2 separate regions of the Homo sapiens genome follow, and region 2 is linked to region 1. Evidence: promoter capture Hi-C in human tissues and cell types (Jung and others, 2019). All regions are on one chromosome and are shown on one strand. Each heading gives the region's core, a stretch centred on a gene start or on the middle of the fragment in contact. The rest is flanking DNA. Distances are from core to core; before and after follow the strand shown.

Region 1 (3,244 bases), core at 249-2,748:
ATTAGTATTTTCATCCATGTGCTCTAGTAAAACTATAAAAGGGTCAATAAACACAGAGATGATCACAAACTTCCTCAACTCGGAAATCTCCACAAACGTTCAACTCTCTGGGAGGTTTCAGGTAGAAAGTTTTATATAAGCACTTATCAACTTTAATGGTCTTTTACAAGATAGTTACAGTTAGACCATTGTAAGGATCACACTTCCGTCTGCACTCTGAATGGTGGTTCAGGCATCTTTGGGCCCTCCCTTCCTGCACTCCCTTTGTTGTGCGAGGGTAAATGAGTTACAGTAATAACCCTGCAAATATCCTGCCTTGTGATTAAAACATTACCTTAATGCAGACTTTACATTTTGGCTTCTATGAAGGCTTAAAGGTTAAAGGCATCATAAATTATGCATTTCTTTCTATGCCAGGCCTGTAAAAGGTGCTTTTACAGTTCTTTAAAGATATTGCTTCTAAATGAGTACAGGCTTTTCTTTTTTTTTCTGCCAAAACAGAAACATTTCCATTATGTTTATTACTGCTGTGCTGGAGAGCCAAAACAGTTTGGAATTAAGAAACTGCTAGAGTCTGTTGTTTCAGAATGTGTAGCAACTGTTAACATACACAGTGGAGTTGCCCATTCACTGTTTGGACAGTGATATGGTAAACATGGGCTAACACACAGGTCTGCTCCCGGGAGAACGATGATCTGGTAAACTCCAGAACACCAACAGTTAGAGCTTTCCCCTTCTGCCTCCGCCCCAATTTACAGATGTGAACAGGAATTAGCGAGACACAAGACACACTAGAATATCCCTAACTCCTGCAGTGGAGCAAGCTCTATTCTGTGGATTCTCCAGTACCACACATGTCCTTGCTACCCAGCACCCTGACTTCCTCACTTTTGTCACCTCCAGCTGAAGTACAGTTCTAAGGGTCTCTTTTTTTCCTTTTACACTTACACGTAATGCATCTGCAGAAGGCTGGGCTCTTTATCTCAAGGAAGACCACACCCATTTATCCCTTAGCTTTCAGGAGCAAACTGCTGATTTAGGGACCGAAGCTGGACTGAAGCGACCCAACTTCAGCCAGGCCACAACCTCCTTCAGCTCTGCACCTCGTCTGGTTGCGGTGGAGGATTCTGGAGACAGATTGCCAGCTTTAAGAGCCAGAGTTCCTGAGATTTCTTCCAGGAGACAACCCGCACACCCTGATAACTCCGTGGCAAAGTTGTTTCTTCCTCCTCTGCTGCAACACCTTTTCCTCTCCACCTTTCCATTAGCATACGCGCGCGCGCACACACACAGCTTTGCTCACTCAACTTACCAGTTTAGATTTGGCGCGTTGCAAAAATTCTTCCATGTCGTGGCTAGGGGTTTGGAACCCGGGTACTCGGAGGGGCGCAGTGGAAAATCTCGGCCCAAGGAAGACGAGCGGGGTCCCGGGAAAGTGGCCCGCCGGGGCGCAGCGACCGACTGCTCCCTCCTGCCGCTCTGAGGCGGCTGCGGCGGAGGCTGTGCTTGCGCCCTCGACCGTCTCGCCCAGGGCTCCCCGCCCCACCCCTCGCCCGGCCGCCGGCTCTGGGCACCCGACTCTGCCCTAATAAGGAAAGTGGGTGTGCCGCCCAGGAGCCCCGGGGCGCGCCGGGCACGCTCTCTGGCACGCGCCTCGGGCGCCGTGGCGCGTGGGCGGAGGTGCAGGGGTATGGCGAGGGGCTCCTCCGCCAATCGCAGGGCCGTGCTGCGGCCTCCTGACGTGGCGCGCCGAAAGCTGCTGCAACCATGGACAGCGCCCAGAAGTGCGAGCCAAGTGCAAGGGGCTGCTGCAGAGGGAGGCTCTGCCGCAGGCACCGCCGCGGTCAGCGGGGGAAGGTGGGAAGAGGGAGACGGGTCCCAGGAGAGCCCCCGCCTCGCCCAGCGCCTCACTGGCTGGCTGGCGCGTTACGGAGCACTCCGGCGGTCACTTAATGATCTGGTCGGCTGGCCTGGCCGGGGGAGGCACTCAGCTAGATTGGCGTGGGAGGGACGAGGAGAGAAAGAGGGGAGTTACTGCTGAGCTAAAAGCAGTACGACCTTGATGGATAATAATCAGAAGAGCAGGCTAGGAGGTTGGGCGAGGCTGCGTCTTTCCTCCCTACCATGAAAACATGTCCACACAACAATGGGCATCCACAGTTCACCCCAACTAGGTGCCCTTATGTCAGCCCTGGGACTAATGCATAGATACATCCTTCTGCAGTTCCCATCCACTGACATGTACCCTCAGGGAAAGCTGGGGCAATAGAACCTTGCTAAGGTGAGGTGCAGTCTGCAGACCGGCAACATCAGCATCGCTGATCTTATAGAAATGCAGAACCTCAGTCCCCTGCTCCTACTTACCAAATCAGAATCTGTGTGTTTCTATGAGACCCTCAGATGATTTCTATGCTTGTTAAAGTTTAAGAAGTACTACAATGAACAAATGAACTTATATCTACAAACCTTATTTTAAATCATGGGGTTTTGTTGTATGTAGCCTTGTCCGGTCCCCAAACACACTACATCAGGCTTTCTCTGACCTCTGGGCTTTTGCACACCACCTGTAAGATCCTTCCAGCCCTTGTCCTAGCCCCCAGCCTCAGCTGTTCTACAGAAGTAGCCTCAACCCTGACTGCACAGTAAAATCACATCGTAATCACCTGAGACTTGAGAAAGTACTGATACCAGGGCTTTATCCCAGTCCAATTAAATTAATATCTCTGGGCATGGGGCCACAGCATTTCTGTGGAAAGTGACCCAAGTGATTCTAATGTGCAGTTCAGGTGTGATGCTCTGATTCTCGATGAACTTTACATGTATCTAAATCACTTAGAGGGCTTGATGAAACACAGATTTCCGTGCCCCATCCTTAGAATTTTAGCCCTAATAGGTGTGGCTTAATGGGCCTGAGAATGTCCATGTATACAATCTCCCAGGGTTTGCCGATGCTGCTGATCCAAAAACCACACTTTGACAGTGAGTGGCGTAGAAGTTCTCTTTCTCCAGAAAGCCTCCCCAACACACTTTTCCCTTCCCATCCCCAGACTGAGTTGGTTGCCCCTTCTGTATTCCCTCATAGCAACTTACATTTTCCACTCTGCTATAAATTGCATAATTATTTGTCTATGTCCTCCACCAGGCTGTGAGCTCTGTAAAGACAGGGACCTTGCCTGTCTCATTCACTGATGGAACCCTAACATGATGTATGTTCATGTCATATACAGGTCCTCAATAAATATGT
Region 2 (3,244 bases), core at 374-2,873, 110 kb before region 1:
TTGTTTTAATAAGGCCTACTTTAATAAGCCTAGTTACTATTTATTGAGCACTTAATATATATCAGGAACTACTGAGAATTTTACCTACACTAAATCTTAAAAACAATCCTATGAACTAGGTTTTTAAGTATCTTTTTCACCAACGAGATACGGTGCTTCAGAGAAAATAAATAAATATGCTGATATGGCAAATGGCGGAACCAGGATTTCAGACTCAGGCCCTGGGGCTCAGCCTCAGGAGGTATCTGGAGGCAGTAAGGTGGTGGCAAAGAGCGCGGCCTCCGAGCGAGCGCGGTCGCTCACGCCTCTAATCCCAGCACTTTGGGAGTCTGAGGCAGGGGGATCACGAGGTTAAGAGATCGAGGTCATCCTGGCCAACACAGTGAAACCCTGTCTCTACTAAAAATACAAAAATTAGCTGGGCGTAGTGGCCGGCGCCTGTAGTCCCAGCTACTCGGGAGGCTGAGGCAAGAGAATCGCTTGAATCTCGGAGGCAGAGGTTGCAGTGAGCCCAGATCGCACCACTGCACTCCAGCCTGGCGACAAAGAGAGACTCTGTCTCAAAAAAAAAAAAAAAAAGAAAAGAAAAGAAAGAAAGAAAAAGAAAGAGTGCAGCACCTGGAAGGGGAATCCCTGGAAAGAAAGCTTAGTTTCTTCACCATTTAGTAGCTGTCCGACCTCGAGCAAAGTTACATACCTTCTCCAGGCCTCAGTCATCTGCTATATATGTATAATGGGAATGCAAATACCAAGTAACTACCTCATGGAGTGGCCCTAAGAATTAAATAGGACAAATCACATTAAGTTTTAAGCAAAGTGTCCAGAACATACTCAGAATTTGATATGTATTACCAATTATTATAATTATTATTACTTGAATTATCAGTCTGTTGATGTAGACCTACTAGAAGGAAAAAATACCCTCCAATGCTCTTCTGCCTGCCACGAAGGAAGGCAAGAGAAGTTACTGGACTCCCACTGCTCTAACATATGGTCAGAGACAACAGAGAAGCCTTACCTGGGAATGGGGGCCTAATTGAATGACGCTGGCCAGGGTGACTGGGTTCCAGCTGTCGGATGCTGAGAGGAAGCTTTGGCCAATCTCCAGAATGAATATGCATGAACTATTACTCTAGCTAGGTCTCAGTATCATACCCTATCAGTATCTCGGGCACACATGTGTCCAAAGAGCAGATCTGCCTTCTAGATAATGCTACCATCAGTAACACTGGGCTTCAAAGACATCACACCGTCAAAACACCATAACTATGGTCACCAAACTGCGGAGACCCAGACAAACATTGAGAGAAGTCAGGCACTAGACCCAGACCCCTGCCTTTGAGAGGGGTCTTATTTCTGATCCCTCCAATGTCATTCTGTGAATCCCATCTTAGCAGACCCCATTGGATCTTGAAACAGCCCCAGCCCAGAGACAGTTCACAATTCAACTTGTCTTGGTTTGTGATTCAACCTGATTTTGAGTTACTAATAGCCCCTGGGGGGGAGCATGTTCTCCCAAAAGTGATGTGATCATGTTATCTCTGCCTTATGGTTTCTTGTACACGAGCCTAAAAGGGGAAAGAGGGGGCACAGAAAGGGGCAGAGGAAGGAAGGGGAGATAAATGCAAATATTTTGTTCACCGTAAAAATACAGAATTTTATTGACAGGATCCAAATACGGTACTTTTAATGAATCATGTAGTCCACCTTCTATACCTGGTGGTTAGTACATCCCATTAATTCAAAGCCCCAGGTGTACATAAAAATCACACATAACTTTTTTAACAAATGGCCAGAAACCATTTAATATTGAAGTACTTCTGCCTGGACATTGACTTTTCATATTGAGAAAATTTCTGAGAGAATAAGACTCAAACAGATAGATATTGGTATTGGGACTATAAGACTACCGTAAAACAACTGCAGAATCTGATAAATCAAGGGAACTAATTTACTGTTCCAATCACTCACTTCACAGGTGCCTCATTTCAAAGTTTAACCCAGGCTCTAATGTTTAAATCAAGTTTGTGTATAATTTGGGTAAATAAAATGCTTTTCTTTACAAAAGATATATGATCACTCATAAAATTTTGCCAGGTAAATTGCTTAAGAACGCACAGCACTCTTCTATTAGCAACCTAAGATCCAAATCTTGCTAGCTCCAAAGGAATTTTTTAAATAAGCAAGAAGAGGAACTGTAGAAGGGACCACGCAATGGACTGGTTCAATGACAATATCATTAAATGACAAGGGCTGATAAAATAAAGCCTCGCTACGATCATTACCCCAGGGCACAGGAGAAGCACACATGCTTCTCCTCCTGAGGCCCTCATGCCCCAGGAAGGATAGGCAAAGAAACATGCGTGGTGAGAAAGCAGAAATCTGAGAGGATTCTGTAAAAGAACTTGAATCATCAAGATCCTCATTTTGGCACGGCCCCCACCACTTCTTCCCCTGATTGGTGTCACAAGTGTCTGGCATGCACTTTATGCTACTCACACAACCTGTTTTACTATAAAATGGGTAGACTGAAAGAATGCCTCCTTACAGCTGGCATTTATGCATTTCCTAATTGTCATAGTTAATTTTGTATGTGTCAACTTGACTGCCACATGGGATGTCCGGACATTTGGCCAAACATTACATTCTAGGTATGTCTCTGATGGTGTTTCTGCATGAGATTAACACTGGAATTAGCAGACCGGGTAAAGCTGACCACTTTCCCCCGTGTGGGTAGACCCCATCCAATCAACTGAAGACTCAAATAGAACAAGAAGGCTGAGGAAGAGGGAGCCTCTCCTGCAGAACTTCAGTCTTTTCTGGCCTTAGGATGCAAACTGAAACATTCATTCTTCTTGGATCTTGATCCTGCCAGCTTTCAGATCAAAATTAATCTAGACGCTGTTGGCTCTGTCTCTCTGAAGAACCCTGACCAATACACCCATTTACTGAGATTGTTTCCAAAATGAAATCACACACTCACACATACACACACACACAAGCATTTAACAGTGTTACTACTGGGAGAGGAATTGGGGAGAAAAAAGGGTTTACTTTACATTTTGATCACTGTGTACTGTTAAAATTTTCTAACTTTATATATGTATTATTTTTAGTTTAAAAATAGTAATAGGAATTATCAGGTCAGAAAGAATGTATTTCATTAGTTATAGTTTCTCTTTTACGTTCTATATAATTGAAAAAAAATATTTCTATAGGTATAAATATATAAAAATGCACAGAA

The links. Contacts are between HindIII fragments. The study calls those that stand out against the background at their distance.
Region 2: a fragment that was not itself captured here is called in contact with the fragment with the promoter of PRUNE2 in region 1 in 2 of the 25 tissues and cell types used here (H1 embryonic stem cells and psoas muscle).

The regions. Positions count from the first base shown.
Region 1 is chr9:76,904,616-76,907,859 of GRCh38, forward strand. It overlaps PRUNE2 (prune homolog 2 with BCH domain), which reads right to left and starts at 1,499. Exons shown (of 19, transcript NM_015225.3): 1 at 1,313-1,499. The coding sequence starts at 1,348. RefSeq lists a silencer at 1,569-1,628. The HindIII fragment of the contact is 8,445 bases long and covers 1-3,244 here.
Region 2 is chr9:76,794,052-76,797,295 of GRCh38, forward strand. All of the region lies in intron 6 of PRUNE2 (prune homolog 2 with BCH domain), which reads right to left. Among named protein-coding and RNA genes, the nearest start is that of PCA3, 31 kb to the left of the region's middle. The HindIII fragment of the contact is 6,528 bases long and covers 1-3,244 here.